Linked DNA regions of Homo sapiens: regions 2, 3 and 4 are each linked to region 1. The links are contacts of gene promoters, found by promoter capture Hi-C in blood cells and fetal thymus (Javierre and others, 2016). All regions are on one chromosome and are shown on one strand. The core of a region is centred on a gene start or on the middle of the fragment in contact, and the rest is flanking DNA. Distances in the headings are between cores, read along the strand shown. Region 1 holds the start of CORO1C (coronin 1C). Region 2 has its middle 4.4 kb from the start of FICD. Region 3 overlaps SART3 (spliceosome associated factor 3, U4/U6 recycling protein). Region 4 has its middle 10 kb from the start of SSH1.

Region 1 (3,682 bases), core at 343-2,842:
ACAATGAGATGCATTATTATATAGAGTGACTAAGAGCCCTACAAGTACTGTTTTAGAATGTAATCCCAGGCAGAAAGGCTGCGGTAAGAGGGCCTAATATTTTGTGGTAACTATTTCCAAAAGTAAATATATTCGCCACCCAGGACCAGTTTATTAAACGCGCACTACATTCAATTCTTTTCAAATGTCTTATAGGAGGGAAAAGCCTTTGTATCTTACCATGCCGGGGGAAATGAACAACTTGCAATTTGCTTCGCACTCTGAATCCCACGTTTGCAACATGTAGAGCAAGCACTTTAGACACCACAAAACAAGGGCAGCCTACATTACGGCCAAATATAGGATGTGTTTCTAAATCGTGATGCAGTAAAGCCTACGATTCCTTTTCCAGCGTTCAAAATCCTTTGAACACTCCCAAAAAAGGATGCCAGGGCCAGCGCCTCCCTCCAAGAGGAAGCCCCTTTCTTCTCAGCTCTCACCGCAGCCTGCCACTTCCCCCAACACATTCAAATCATTTGAGAGACGGAGAGCTGGGGAGCGTGCGCCGGTGGGGACAGGCGGGAGAGCTCGGTTTCTGCATTCCCACCCTCCACGTCTGACCTCATCCTCAGTCATTTCGGCGCAGCGGGGCCCCACCTGCACCTCGCTCCTTTTTACTGCGTCCCTCGCCAGCTGCCCCGCTATTAGGGAAACACACCTCTGAATCACCCAGTTCACTCGGACACCCTGGGCCCCCGATCCGACAGCCTTCCTGCTTCGTTCCTCCCCTCCCAACCCCCAGCCAGTCCCAGCCCTCTGCTCCCTTGGCCGGGCTCAGCCTCTTCCCAAGCCGCCCCCACCCACATTACTCCAGCTCCAGCTCTGCCCCGCCCCGCCTGACCCCCAACCGAGATCTGCAGGGCCCAGAGCTGGTCTCGCACCCAAAGCCAGGAAACCCGCAGGCCAGGCGGCCGCCCTCGCCCCTCCCGACGCAGGGCCCAGCTCGCCCCGGCCCCACGTGAGCCCGGCCCCTACCCGCCCCCACCCACTCGTTCCCTGGGGCGGCCCAAACCCAGTCCCCAGGCCTGGAGCCCCCGGGCTCTACGCCTCGCCCGAAGCAGCCCTTCCCTCCCAGCACCTCGCCCAAGCAGGCGATCCCTGACCCCTAAAAGCCTTCCCTGGGCAGCCTCGTCCCACCTCGGCCCGCGGCTCCGCACCCGGCCAGGAGCGTTCCGGACCTCGAAAGCCTCCTCCCCACAGGGACCCTGCTTCACGCTCCCCACGCCACCTGGTTCGGTCCCCAACTCCCTTTCCCCGAGCCCCCGACAGCAGCCCCCGGCCCTAACCCCTTGCAACCCAGCCCGTGAACCCGCGCCCCGCGCGCCCACCCAGCACTGTCCCCTCCACCTAGCCCTGCCCCTCGCCCCGCCGGCTCCTGTCAGGCGGCGCAGGCACATGCTCAGAGGACAGGTCCGCCCGCCCGACTCGCTCTCAGGCTGCCCCCGCCGGGCGCGAGCCGCTCACCCGGGCCGAGGTGCCTGAGGCGCCGCCGCCGAAGTCCCCGCTGCAAAGCCGGGCGAAGCCTCCAACCGCTGCCGCCTCCAGCCTGGCACTGAGCGCCGTGCGGGGGAGGGGCGCGGGCAGCCGCCACCGCCCCCGCCACCGCGCGTAGGCCCCGCCCCCGCGCCGCGCGGGACCCAACCAGGGCTGCCGGGCCGCTGTGCGCCACGCCCACTTCCGGAGGGGAAGCCCGCTTCCCACCCCACGTTCCACGCCTCGCTACGCCCCCTCTGGTCGCACCGAGGGATGCAGGCGGTGCCCAAGCGCACGCCCCGCTCTCCAGTCATCTGAGTGGTAGAGGGCCACGCCCACAGGCGCCTCCGAGCAACGCCCACTGCTCCTTAGACCCCGGAGCGGGGTTCTTAGAGCCCCGCCCACTGACCCGCTAGGCTCTGCAAGGCCACGTCCCCTGGCTCCTCAAAGATTCCCCCAGAGCCCCTCAATACAGGAACATTAGCTCCTCTGAGCCCCGCGCACTGCCTATCCGAGTCCTTAAACCAGCCTCCTGCTTCCCTAAGCCCGGCTCCCCTCCCACTGCTTCAGAACTCGCCCAGCGGCCTCACAAAGCCCCGCCCCGTCTTCCAGAAGCCCCGCCCAAGGACCGCAACCCTATTCCTAGCATCTCAAGCCCCGCCCACTACCCCATCTCAACGTTTAAACCCCAAGCCCCGCCCCGAATTCGCGAATCCACGCCTCTGGCTCCCGAGGCTCCGCCCTGGCTCCGTCACACCCTACCACCACCTCCCTTGAGGACTGCCGACGTTCCAGCCCTCCCTGAACCGTCCATTGTCACATTCCTAGTGCAGAGTGGCCGCCCCTGGGCTGGGCCACACCCACGTAACCCCAAAGAGGGCCCGTGATTGACCCCATTTCGCAGGTGAGGGAATGGAAACTTCAGGGTTCCTCCCTTCCTTTCCCTGGCCAGAGTCCCTTAATAACTCGGCGGCCCAGGCCTGAAAGTCGGAGCACGGGAATTTGAGCCTCAGCTCTGCGGCCGTCAGACTGTGTGACCTGGGACAGTTCTCTTACCTCTTTGGGCCTGAGTCCCCTAATCTTCAGCATGAAGAAGTTGTCCTGTTAATAGCTAAAGTCCCTTTCTGAAACACCAAGCTCTGAAATACCGAGATTTGAGGAAACAGAGCCTGGGGAACCGAACCGACTGTGGGGTAGGGCTATTTACTTCCCAAAGCAAGGCATCTTTGCCATTCACAGGGGGATTTTTTATTTTAAGCGTCAGCCTCAGAAACGTGTGTTATTTAAATCAAGCTTGACCTGAACTAAGACAGCTATCACAGCAAATTATTTATCCTCTCTAAGGGTCAGTTTCTTTATCTGTAAAATGGGGATAACAGCCCCTCCCTCACAGGGTTCCATGAGATCATATTAGCAGCCATGATCGTGGCATTACTTTTTGCCATTAAAAGGAATGGCAAAAACCGCGATTACTTTTGCACCAGGATAATAGTAATATACTTAGAAGAGTTCCTGGCTTGTGATAAACGCTCGACAGTACCTGTTGCTGCTACTGCTGGGACTCAACAAAATGAAAGGATGGGTTTTATTTTGCCTTCAAGCAGCCACTCCTAATAGGAGGAATTCAGCACCCTTCCTGCAGTAAGATTTGCCACTCACTTTATTTAAATGAGATAAACGTGATGAAACGCCTACTGCAGTGCCTGCCATATGGTGAGGCTCAAAAACAATTCACTTGTTTTTGTTTGTTTGAGACACAGTCTTGCTCTGTCGCTCAGGCTGGAGTGCAGTGGGGCAGTCCACGGCTCACTGCAGCATGGACCTCCCGGGCTCAAGTAATCCTCCCACCTCAGCCTCCCACGTAGCTGAGACTACAGGCACGCGCCACCATGCCCAGCTAAATTCTTAACATTTTTCTGTAGAGATGAAGTCCTGCTATGTTGCCCAGGCTGGCCTCAAACTCCTGAGCTCAAGAGATCCTCCCACCTCGGCCTCCCAAAGTGTTGGGATTACAGGTATGAGCCACTGTGCCCACAATTCAATAGTTTTGAACAATAAAAGTTGTTTTTTTAAAATCCACTAGTTAATAAATTAAACAGGGGCATTGATAGCAGTGAGTTCTGAGTGCTTTGGGGAAAATGAAGATTGGTAAAGTGCTTTGAGTTCCTTT
Region 2 (3,682 bases), core at 458-2,957, 220 kb before region 1:
AAGCTTTCAGATGATTGCAGCCCCAAACACTATCTTGACTTCAATCTCAAGAACGTCTGCCAGCTAGAACCATCCAGCTAAACTGCTCCCAGATTACTGACCCACACAATATAATGTAAAGTAAAAAATGTTTGCTGTTGTTTTAAGCTACTAAGCATTGGGGTTATTTGTTACACAGCAATGGATAACAGACATAGGGTGGATGTCAGAAATTGTCTCGAGAAGATGACTTTATGAAGATTTTTCCTCCTCGCTCCTTCCCCTACCCTTAAAGCATTTTTACAGTAGAAGGGGACATGTTAACGGGTAGGGAATCTAGAGACTTGGATTTGTATTCTGGCTCTGTCCTTAGTTTTTCCACCTCCAAAGCTGAGGAGCTAAAATGTAACCTGAGATCTCTGAAAGCCTAGGGTCTCATAATCGTCAAAACCACAGTTTTGAGTCAGGAAGACTGGTTGTGAACCCTGGCTCTGCCACTTGCTTGCTGTGTGACCTCAGACTAATTACTTAATTTATCTGAGCCTCATTTTCACCTTCTATAAAGTGGGTTTAATAATATCTAGTTCATGGCGTTGTTACAAAAATTCAATCAAATACCATACAAATTACTTAGCACACAGTAAGTGCTCAGTTGTCACCACTACCAAAAATGAGATAGCATGGTGGGTACGATTATTTCCACTTGTAGCTAAGATACAGTAGGATCAGAGGAGCAGTTAGAGGATTTCGTTGGTCTGGAGCAAGGCCCCATGTGGTTGTTTTTCCAAAACCCCCCCAAATGATTCTTTGAGAAACTTTGTCCTAGAGAAACTTCCACACATGTGCCAAAAAATCATACAAGTATTTCACTGCAGTCTGTGATAGGGAAAAATTGGAAACAATCCAAATGCCCATCAACAGGTAAATGGGAAATAAATTGTTAATGGAATACTATACAGCACTGTAAAATTAATGAACCAGAACTATGCATATCAGCATGAGCATAAATCTCTAAGACATAATTCTGAGCCCCAAAATGCAGAAGGATCCACACGGTATATATCATGCATAAAAATCTGCATAACATCATTATATATTATTTATGGATACATGCATGTGGATAAAAGCAAAAAGCCATGCATGGAGGCAGCAGCACCAAATTCAACATGGTAGTGACCTCTGGGAGGGAGGGAAGGGCATGTGAAGGGGAGAAGGCCCATGGGGCTTCAGTGTATTGGTGACATGGTATTTCTTAAACTGGATGGCAGGTATACAAGCGCCCATTGCACTGTTGATGTCTTTTGGATATCAGAAATATTTCATCATTTAAAAATAGATGTGGCCAGTTGTGGCGGCTCATGCTTATAATCCCAGCACTTTGGGAGGCTGAGGTGGGAGGATTTCTTGAGCCCAGGGGTTGAAGACCAGACTGGGCAACATAGTGAAACCCCATCTCTACAAAAAAAAAAAATTGTTTAAATTAGCCAGTCATGGTGGCATGCACCTGTAGTCCCAGCTACTTGGGAGGCTGAGGCAGGAGGATCACTTAAGCCCAGGAGGTTGAGGCTGTAGTGAGCTGAGATCATGCCACTGCACTCCAGCCTGGGTGACAGAGTGAGACCCTGTGTCTACAAAAAAAAAATTTTTTTAATTAGCCAGTCGTGGTGGCACACACCTATAGTCCCAGCTACTTGGGAGGCTGAGGCAGGAGGATCATTTAAGCCCAGGAGGTTGAGGCTGCAGCGAGCCGAGATCGTGCCACTGCCCTCCAGCCTGGGTGACAGAGTGAGACCCTGTCTCAAAAATAAATAAATGTGCATAGAGAAATATGGAGTAGAATTGTGAATGTGTATTTTTTTCTTGTTTTTTGTGGATTCTATATCTGTAATGATCTCATGTTGTTTTTAAGAAATAAAATAGTTGTTCAACAGGTGAAAAGCAGTTACGTTTAATTTTTTCCAAGTAAGAAGTACCACTTCCCCAAATGATTTGCTTTGAAAACAACACTCATCTGCATGTCTGAGTTTTGAAATATTGGTGATTTGAGACCATACGACATGAGAAACATCCTGAGGCCAGAACACAAGCCTTTAGCCCAGGGACACTCACATGGGGTCCCCCAAGCCCTGTTTCTTGGGGATGCCTCAGAAACTGGGTCTGACCCCACCAGGTATGTCTTTTCTTTTTTTTTTTTTTTTTTGAGACGGAGTCTCGCTCTGTTGCCCAGGCTGGAGTGCAGTGGTGCGATCTCAGCTCACTGCAAGCTCCGCCTCCCGGGTTCACGCCATTCTCCTGCCTCAGCCTCCCGAGTAGCTCGGACTACAGGCGCCCATCACCACGCCAGGCTAATTTTTTGTATTTTTAGTAGAGACGGGGTTTCACTGTGTTAGCCTGGATGATCTCGATCGCCTGACGTCGTGATCTGCCCGCCTCGGCCTCCCAAAGTGCTGGGATTACAGGTGTGAGCCACCGCGCCTGGCCCCCACCAGGTATGTTTTAAAAGGAGGATTAATCAGTAGCAGGGAGAAGGGCTGCTGGGCTCTCTTTTTCAGCCACAGCATTAAGTTAGACAGAGAAAAAAAAATCAGGGGTGGGGAAAGATGAGAGAAATGAAGAAGCAAGAACAGGTGTGGTGTATTTTCTTTTTAATGAAGTTGAGTCATTCTGCAGCCAACTCAATGCCATGTAGCCTCAAGCCGGGGAGTTTTGTTTTTCCTAAGCAATAGAATCCGACTCTGCCAGCAAGAAGCGCTTGACTGCTGTTCCTTAAACATGCAGAAGGGTTTTTTGTCTTGTTTTGTTTTGCATAATGGACATATTTCCCATGCAGCCACTTTCTGGGTTCTTTGTCATGTGTCAAGGTAAGCGTTTAGAAAACTCCTCCGTGGGCCACGGGGAGGCAATTTTCACCTAGTACAGAATGCTTAAGATGGAGAAAGCCAACTTTTCAATATCGCTTCAGGGACCATATTTTGTGCATTCAACACAGCTGAATGCAGACAAAGTCGAGAGTTAAAATTTTTTGAGTGTAAACTCCTGACAAGGAGATTGAAGGAGGGAAGTGATGTCAGGTGAATTACTGCCCCCTGGTGGCCAGACACAGTAATGGGCTCATTTTGCTGTAATAGTCCTTTGAGTCTTTTCTTCCTGCGTTCCCCTGCCATCTTCCACTACCGGCTACAAAGGGGTTACAATCTGGCGGCCCTGGAAAGCCAGCCGGCAGCCATGCCAACTGCCTTAAAATCTGGAGATACTGCTTAAAAAATCTAGGCCTCACATTTATTTTGAAAAATTGAAAACTCTATCCACTTTTAGACTGCATCCCAGCTAATAAATACGGGTTCGAGCTGAGAAGCTGCTGCCCACTTTAGACAAGGCATGTGCTCTCAAATCTGCCATACTCCCCACCTCTACCTATTGTCTCATGGCCAGGAAGCTTTGCTCATTAGCAGTTCCTGCATAGCCTCTGGATTTACTACTCGTAGCCTAAGCTAATTAAAGACTTAACAAAGAGAGGAGGGTGCCTTTAGAAGCAGAGGACTACATTGCTTTATACCTGGGTGTGGACAGGGGTCCACTAGTCCCTTAATACCCAGCTCAGTGAGGATAAGTGACTTGTTCAAGGTCACCCAGCCAGCAAGCGGTGGGCCTTGCATTTCAACGCACATCTGTCTGACCCCAGAGCTTCACTGTTTTCTAACAT
Region 3 (3,682 bases), core at 810-3,309, 190 kb before region 1:
AAAACTATAAAGAAAAGCAAGGGAATTATCATCACAAAAGTCAGGAAAGTGATTACCTCTCGGGAGAGGGAGGAGGAGGCAATCGGAGAGGGGCACATAGGAGACTTCTAAGGTACTGGCAATGTTCTATTTCTTAACCTGGGTGGTAGGTACATGGATGTTCACTTTATTATTAGTATGTAAACTGTACGTATACATTTATACACTCTATATATTTCAGAATAAAACATTTTAAAGATACTGTTTAACTCGCAACTATCCATCAGGGAAAGGTTTGTAGAGAGACGTTTACTATAAAAGAAGCCAACACTTACCAGTGCTTCTTCATAGGGTTTATATTTCTCCAGCTGCTGTAGTGCTTTGTTATAGTTCTGAATTACTGACTCTGGTATTGGGTCTTCTGACCATTCTTCATACTCTGCAAATGTGGCCTCCATATCTATTGAAAGATGGATTCAGCCCCGTGGGTCTTGCCATTGGGCTTTATCAACCCAAACACAGATTAAGCCATGAGACTCAGGTGCCACTAGCCCCTCCCACATCTGTGGCATGGCAGCTCTTACTGATCAAATTCTGATTTCTGCTGAGCCCAAACCTGTCTGTAGAATCTGTCTTAAAACAATGTCCCAGGCAACCCTCCCAGCTAATTAATCAGTCAATGACACTAGTGGCAACGATTTAACAACACTTACCCAGTGTTACCTATGTTCTACCACTTCACATCCACTAACTCATTCAGTCATCCCACTCTACAAGGTAGTCTATTGTGATCCTCATTTTGCAGTTGAGGAAACTGAAGCAGAGGGTTCAGTTGCTCGTCTACAGTTAATGGTAGAGCAAGGCTGTGAACCCAAGCAGTCTGGCTCAAGTTCGCACTCTAATCATTATGCTAGGTTGTTTCACGCTGGTAGGTGAAATCTGCAAGCCGGCTCAGCTCTAGTGTTTTCTGCATGATACCCAACCATTTGATTAGACGACTACTTTATAACTTGTTAAATCCAATAAACCATGAAGAGAAATAACATGTGGGCTCCAGTAAAGTTGCCCAGAGGTTCTGAGTATGTACAACACATGCCCGTGTCTAGGGAACAAACACAACAGCCATGACAAACTCTTCCCATACTCAGAAAAATCCTCCCAGCACGCACACACTCATAGCTCCAAAGACTCAAAGGCTTAGATTGCCAAAATGTATTTACCAAATAAGGAAACTCTTTACCAAACCCCAAGAAACTCACTTATGAGTACTTCCAATCAACTGCACTTCTGAACCAAATCCCTCCCATAGAGGAATGATCTAAACTCATGTAAAATTCCTGCTGTTATGGAAGAGGTTACTTGTGAAGAGAAAATGATTATAATGGAACTCTTGTTCAATGAAGTTTCCCCAAAAAATACAGGTGTCATTCACTATTCCTTTCAGAGACCCTATCTCTGCCCTTCCAACTAGGTCTCAAAGGAGAAAAGAGCTCTCACCTGGGAGTCAGGGAGTCTGGCTTCCAGTCCTGCCTCTGACCCTCACAACCCTCTTAAGCACTAACATTCAAGATGTTTTTACCAAGGACCTCATCCAAAGAGACAATATCCAAGGAGAGTAAGAACACCAGCTTTACCTGCCTCACAGGATGGTGGGAAAGGTCTAACTACATGTTGTTCCCCAAAGCATTTTAAAAACCATAGAGGGCTGGCTGTTGACATGTCAGTTTCTCTTACCATAGAGTGGGATCGCCAACTGTCGCCGGAAAAGACTGTGGACTTTCTCAAGCTGTGAATCAAAGGTTTGTTCCCGGTCAAAAGGGGAAAGGAAGCCAGCTACGGGCTAAAGAAGCAAATTAGTAGTAAATGACAAACTGTGGTTCTTTCTTTTTCTTTTGAGAAGGGTTCTTGCTGTCACCCTGGCTGGAGTGTGGTGGTGTGATCACAACTCACTACAGCCTCACACTCCAGGCTCATGCAATCCTCCCACCTCAGAGTCCTGAGTAGCTAGGACCACAGGCATACGCCATCATGCCCAGCTAATGTTTTAGTTCTTGTAGAGATGGGGACTCACTACATTGCCCAGGCTGGTCTTGTACTCCTGAACTCAAGTGATCCTCTGGCCTCAGCCTCCCAAACTGCTGGAATTACAAGCATGAGCCACCGCACTTGGCCAACTCTGGTTCTTTCTACTTCAAAAAATATCTCAACAAATTTTCAGTTCAAGCTAAAAAAATTTATACGACCTCTTCCATACATATTGTACCAAATGCTAGAAGGGGTATAAAAAAAGGTTATCTATCACCCCACCACTAAGGGATTGGCAAAGACCATTTTGTTAACTATATGAACTGCAAGATTCATCATGGACATGTGTTTCAAAATAATCCTTCCAAGGAGACTTACAAAGACAGCCCCAACCCGTTCAGAGACAACCACAGGTACTCACCCGAGCAGCTTCCACAATCGCACTTTCAAACTCTCGGTAAGCCTCCCAGAGGGCGAGTCCTTTGGTCATATGTAAACCAACAGACGAGAGAGCCCTTTCAAACACGGAGCGAACTTTCTCAAGGCCACCTTTCTGACCAATCCCACCAACTGAGTACTGGCCATACTCTAGCCAAATGTTAGGACCTAAAAATAAGAAGTGTTCAATTAGTTTGGGATATAAAATACCCAAATATCAAAACTGATGCATAACAAACGAAATGTGCCTACCAAAAAAGTACTCAGACAGCAGCACTAAATGACAGTGAAGGCCTAACAGCAGAGATGACCATAAAGGACTAAAAAACATTACAGTCTGGGGAAGACCATAGATCCTCAGAAAAAGATAAATGGTGCTATTAACAATGCCTGTGAGAGAGTAAGAAGGGGGTAACAGGATCATCAGAAATCATGGGAACACCATGCACTGCTAAAATTATCAGTGGCTCTAAAAGAAGACTCATGGGCCACAGAGCAGAGATACAGGTATAGTTTTTAAAAACACATTTGGCCAGGTGCGGTGGCTCACGCCTGTAATCCCAGCACTTTGGGAGACTGACGTGGGAGGACCACAAGGTCAGGAGATCGAAACCAGCCTGGCCAATATGGTGAAACCCCGTCTCTACTAAAAATAGAAAAATTAGCCAGGCGTTGTGGCAGGCACCTGTAGTCCCAGCTACTCAGGAGGCTGAGGCAGGAGAATCGCTTGAACCTGGGTAGGGGGGAGGTTGCAGTGAGCCGAGATCACACCACTGCACTCCAGCCTAAGCGAAAGAGTAAGACTCTCTCTCAAAAAAAAAAAAAAAAACACACATATAATATAGTTTTATATTCATAAAACACCGCTTATTTTCATTATTCAGATTATAAACCAAAAAACTGTGAATTCTTCTTGGCTTGTAAAGATACACAAAAAATTCTCTATCATCTCAGAACAGTCTATCTGGTTAGTAGCAATGCTTCTCACAGGGGGACTGCTCCCATTGGGAAATCAACAAGGAAGAGGGTACGAAATCTGAAAGGGGAAATTGTTTGTTTGTTGAGACACAGTCTCGTTCTGTCGCCCAGGCTAGCGTGCAGAGGCATGATCACGGCTCACTGCACCCTCTACCTCCTGGGTTCAAGCAATTCTCCTGCCTCAGCCTCCCAAGTAGCTGGGACAACAGGAGCATGCCACCACGCCTAGCTAGTTTTTTGTATTTTTAGTAGAGATGGGGTT
Region 4 (3,682 bases), core at 598-3,097, 140 kb after region 1:
TGAACAGCATACTATGCAGGAAAGGCAGAGCGTGCTGTCCTATTTACTAATAGTACCTAAGGTATTGGGTTGAATTGTGTCCCCACAAAATTCACTAGTCCCTGTGAATGGGACCTTATTTGGAAATGAGGTCTTTGCAGCTGATCAAGTTAAGATGAGGTCATTAGGGCGGGGCCCTATTCGCATATGACTGTGTCCGTATGAAAAGGGGGAAATTTGCTGGGCGCGGTAGCTCATGCCTATAATCCCAGCACTTTGGGAGACCAAGGCGGGTGGATCACCTGAGGTCAGGAGTTCGAGACCAGCCTGACAAACATGGAGAAACCCTGTCTCTATTACAAATACAAAATTAGCCAGGCGTGGTGGTGCATGTCTGTAATCCCAGCTACTTCGGAGGCTGAGGCAGGAGAATCACTTGAACCCGGGGGGTGGAGGTTGCAGTGAACTGAGATTGCGCCATTGCACTCCAGCCTGGGCAACAAGAGCGAAACTGCATCTCAAAAAATAAACAAACAAACAAATAAATAAATAAATAATAAAAGGGGAAATTTGGACCCAGAGCCAAGGGGAAAATGCTTCCTGAAGGTTGTAGTTGTGCTGCCACAAGCCAAAGAGCACCCGAGATGGTCAGCAAACCACCAGAGCTAGGAGTGAGAAGTGAGGAGCAGATTTGCGTGGCCTTCTGAAGAAACCAGCAACTCGATTTCAGAGTTCCAGGCTCCAGAACTGTGAGAGTAAATGCCTGTGGTTTAAGCCTCCCAGTTTGTGGCACTTTGTTACAGCAGCCACAGGAAAGGAACGCATCTAACATGATCATTTCATCAGCTGCAGAAAATGAGGCTCAGAGCAAGGCTAGGGTTTGAACCCAGGCCAACTAGACCCCAGACCACATACATGGGTTGTTGGCCTTTCTAGCCTGGGAGGTGACAGTTTGGATGTTCCACTATTTGCAGGGAACGGTGTTCAGAGGACTCAAAGCTTCTGCCACCTGGGCCAGGGTGTCCAGTGTTAGATATGGAAGTCAGGTATCTGGGGCTTCTGACAAAGCATCTCTCTGGGTGGGTCAATAGGCACCAGCAGCCAGGCAGTTGAGGGATCTCTGCCCCTGTGCGGAGTTGGCTGAAGCCTCCCTTCCTCTACCCATCCCTTCATTTAACCTGCTTGCCAGATCAAGGTGTTCCCTGGCCTCTGCCAGGGGTGTATTCACCTGAATTTGCCTTTTATTCACTATGATCACAAGCAACACACTGACCCTTGCTGGGCCTCAGAATCTCAACTCTTGGTGGGGTGCGGTGGCCCATGCTGGTAATCCCAGCACTGGGAGGCCAAGGTGGGTGAATCACTTGAGGCCACGAGTTAGAGACCAGCCTGGCCAACATGGCAAAAACCTGTCTCTACTAAAAATACAAAAATTAGCCAGGCATGGTGGCATGCACCTGTAGTCCCAGCTACTCAGGAGGCTGATGCACAAGAATCACTTGAATCCAGGAGATGGAGGTTGCAATGAGCCAAGATCACACCACTGCACTCCAGCCTGGGTGACGGAGTGAGACTCTGTCTCAAAAAACAAACAAAAGAATCTCAACTCTTAATATGGAATGATTAATGTCCTATAAGAAAGCATTGGTTAGATCAATTGGGTATATGCATGTGATATCCCTCCTAGATAGCTCTCAGTGGTCCTCATCTCCTGATATTCATGCCCTGTGGAGTCTCTTCACACAATACATAGAACTGACCTGTGTAACCACTAGGATATCACAGATACTACAGCATGTGGCTTCTGAGGCTAGGGGTCATAAAAGACACTGAAGCTGCTGTCTTGCTGTCTCTTGGATTTCTCATTCTGGGGGAATCCAGCTACCATGTCATGGGGACATTTAGGACATTTAAGCAGCCAAAGAGAGAGGGCCGCATGGCAAGAAACTGAGGTCTCCTGCCAATGACCAGCACTAACCTATTGTCATGTGAATGCACCACCTTGAAAATGGATCCTCCAGCCCCAGTCAGGCCTTTATTTATTTATTTACTTATTAATTGAGACCGGGTCTCATTCTGTCTCCCAGGCTGGAGTACAGTGGCACCATCTTGGCTCGCTGTAACCTCTGCCTCCTGGGTTCAAGCGATTCTCATTCTTCAGCCTCCCGAGTAGCTGGGATTACAGGCGTGCGCTACCATGCCCAGCTAGTTTTTTTGTATTTTTAGTAGAGACAGGGTTTCGCCATGTTGCCCAGGCTGGTCTCAAACTCCTGGCCTCCAGTGATCTGCCTATCTCGGACCCCCAAAGTGCTGAGATTACAGGCAAGAGCCATTGTGCCAGGCCCCCCATTCAAGCCTTCAGATGAGATCACAGCCATGGCCAACATCTGGAGTGCAACCTCATGAGACACTCTGAGCCAGAGCTGCCCAGCTGAGCTGCTTCCAGATTCCAGGCCCAAAGAAAATGTATGAGATAATAAATGTTTATTGTTTTAAGCTGCTAAATTTTAAGGTAACTTGTTATGCAGCAATAGATAACTTTTATATGCTGCCATAAAAATATTATAAAACCATGCACTAGTACAGAAAGATTTTTATAAAATATTAAGTGGAAGAAAAGAAAAGCAGGCCACCAAACAGCGTAGGACAGTAGACCCCATTTTTGAAAGAAAAATGTGAAGAGTTAAAAAACTCTACCAAAAGGGGAAAAAAAAGAGGGCATCAATGGAGAGATGGAGAAGCTTTGTTTTTGGATGGGAAGACTCAGTATGGTAGAGTTAACAACCTCTCGAAATTAAATTAAATGGAAATGCTATTGAAATCCCAACTTGATTCTTTTGAGTGTAGGGATCTTTACAACAGATAACTGGACAAGCTAACATTTATTGGGTATATATGTGCGTTGCATCACGTGACAGTCACTGTTTCATCTTAATTCCACCATAGGAGAAAGTCCCTCTTTATTTAATTTTTCTGAGAGTAAAGTACTGCTATTACCTGTTCCCCTTCCCATTTTACTTAGGAGGTTTCAAGAGGGGACTTGTCTGAGATCCTGGAAACCGTGGAGGTGAGATGACATCAAGCATGTTTGATATTTACATGTGTGCCCTTGGGCCTCCTGCCACATGGCCTCCCCACTGTGCCCTGGTTTCCCTAAGTACCAGCCCAAGGACACATGGATAGGAAAGGTGGAGCTGGGGCACCAGCCCAGTCTGCCTGACTCCAGAGTCCCTGGTCTTAATCACTAAACCACCCCAGAAAAGTAACCGTGGGAGAAGAGACCTGCAAACTAGGAAAAAGAAGATTAAAGGGAAGGAATCTGTTCTGCTAGATATTAAAACATATGACAAAGCTGTAGAAATTAAAACAGAATGGGGCCGGGTGCAGCAGCTTATGCCTGTAATCCCAGCACTTTGGGAGGCCAAGGTGAGTGGATCACCTGAGGTCAGGAGTTCTAGATCAGTGTGACCAATATGGTAAAACCCTGTCTCTACTAAAAGTATAAAAATTAGCTGGGCATAGTGGTGTGCACCTGTAGTCCCAGCTACTCTGCAGGCTGAGCCAGGAGAATTACTTGAACCTGGGAGGCAGAGGTTGCAGTGAGCCAAGCTCACACTACTACACTCCAGCCTGGGCTACAGAGCGAGACTCCAGTTCAAAAAAAAAAAAAAAGAAAGAAAAAAAAAGAAGAAGAAAAAAAAAA

Evidence for each region. Contacts are between HindIII fragments. The CHiCAGO score rates a contact against its expected background, and 5 or more counts as called.
Region 2: a contact is called between a fragment that was not itself captured here and the fragment with the promoter of CORO1C in region 1, in 2 of 17 cell types (fetal thymus and neutrophils). The highest score is 6.9, in fetal thymus.
Region 3: a contact is called between a fragment that was not itself captured here and the fragment with the promoter of CORO1C in region 1, in 1 of 17 cell types (neutrophils). The highest score is 5.7, in neutrophils.
Region 4: a contact is called between a fragment that was not itself captured here and the fragment with the promoter of CORO1C in region 1, in 1 of 17 cell types (monocytes). The highest score is 5.7, in monocytes.

The regions. Positions count from the first base shown.
Region 1 is chr12:108,729,926-108,733,607 of GRCh38, forward strand. It overlaps CORO1C (coronin 1C), which reads right to left and starts at 1,593. Exons shown (of 11, transcript NM_014325.4): 1 at 1,504-1,593. It overlaps LOC105369969 (a long non-coding RNA gene), which reads left to right and starts at 3,484. Exons shown (of 3, transcript XR_945328.4): 1 at 3,484-3,527. RefSeq lists silencers at 872-1,151, 1,342-1,851 and an enhancer at 1,464-2,267. The HindIII fragment of the contact is 3,828 bases long and covers 1-2,803 here.
Region 2 is chr12:108,509,063-108,512,744 of GRCh38, forward strand. No RefSeq gene overlaps it. Among named protein-coding and RNA genes, the nearest start is that of FICD, 4.4 kb to the right of the region's middle. The HindIII fragment of the contact is 3,412 bases long and covers 2-3,413 here.
Region 3 is chr12:108,542,714-108,546,395 of GRCh38, forward strand. SART3 (spliceosome associated factor 3, U4/U6 recycling protein) reads right to left here. Exons shown (of 19, transcript NM_014706.4): 4 at 2,426-2,610; 5 at 1,714-1,765; 6 at 315-439. Among named protein-coding and RNA genes, the nearest start is that of SART3, 17 kb to the right of the region's middle. The HindIII fragment of the contact is 8,616 bases long and covers 1-3,682 here.
Region 4 is chr12:108,866,076-108,869,757 of GRCh38, forward strand. No RefSeq gene overlaps it. Among named protein-coding and RNA genes, the nearest start is that of SSH1, 10 kb to the left of the region's middle. The HindIII fragment of the contact is 1,742 bases long and covers 977-2,718 here.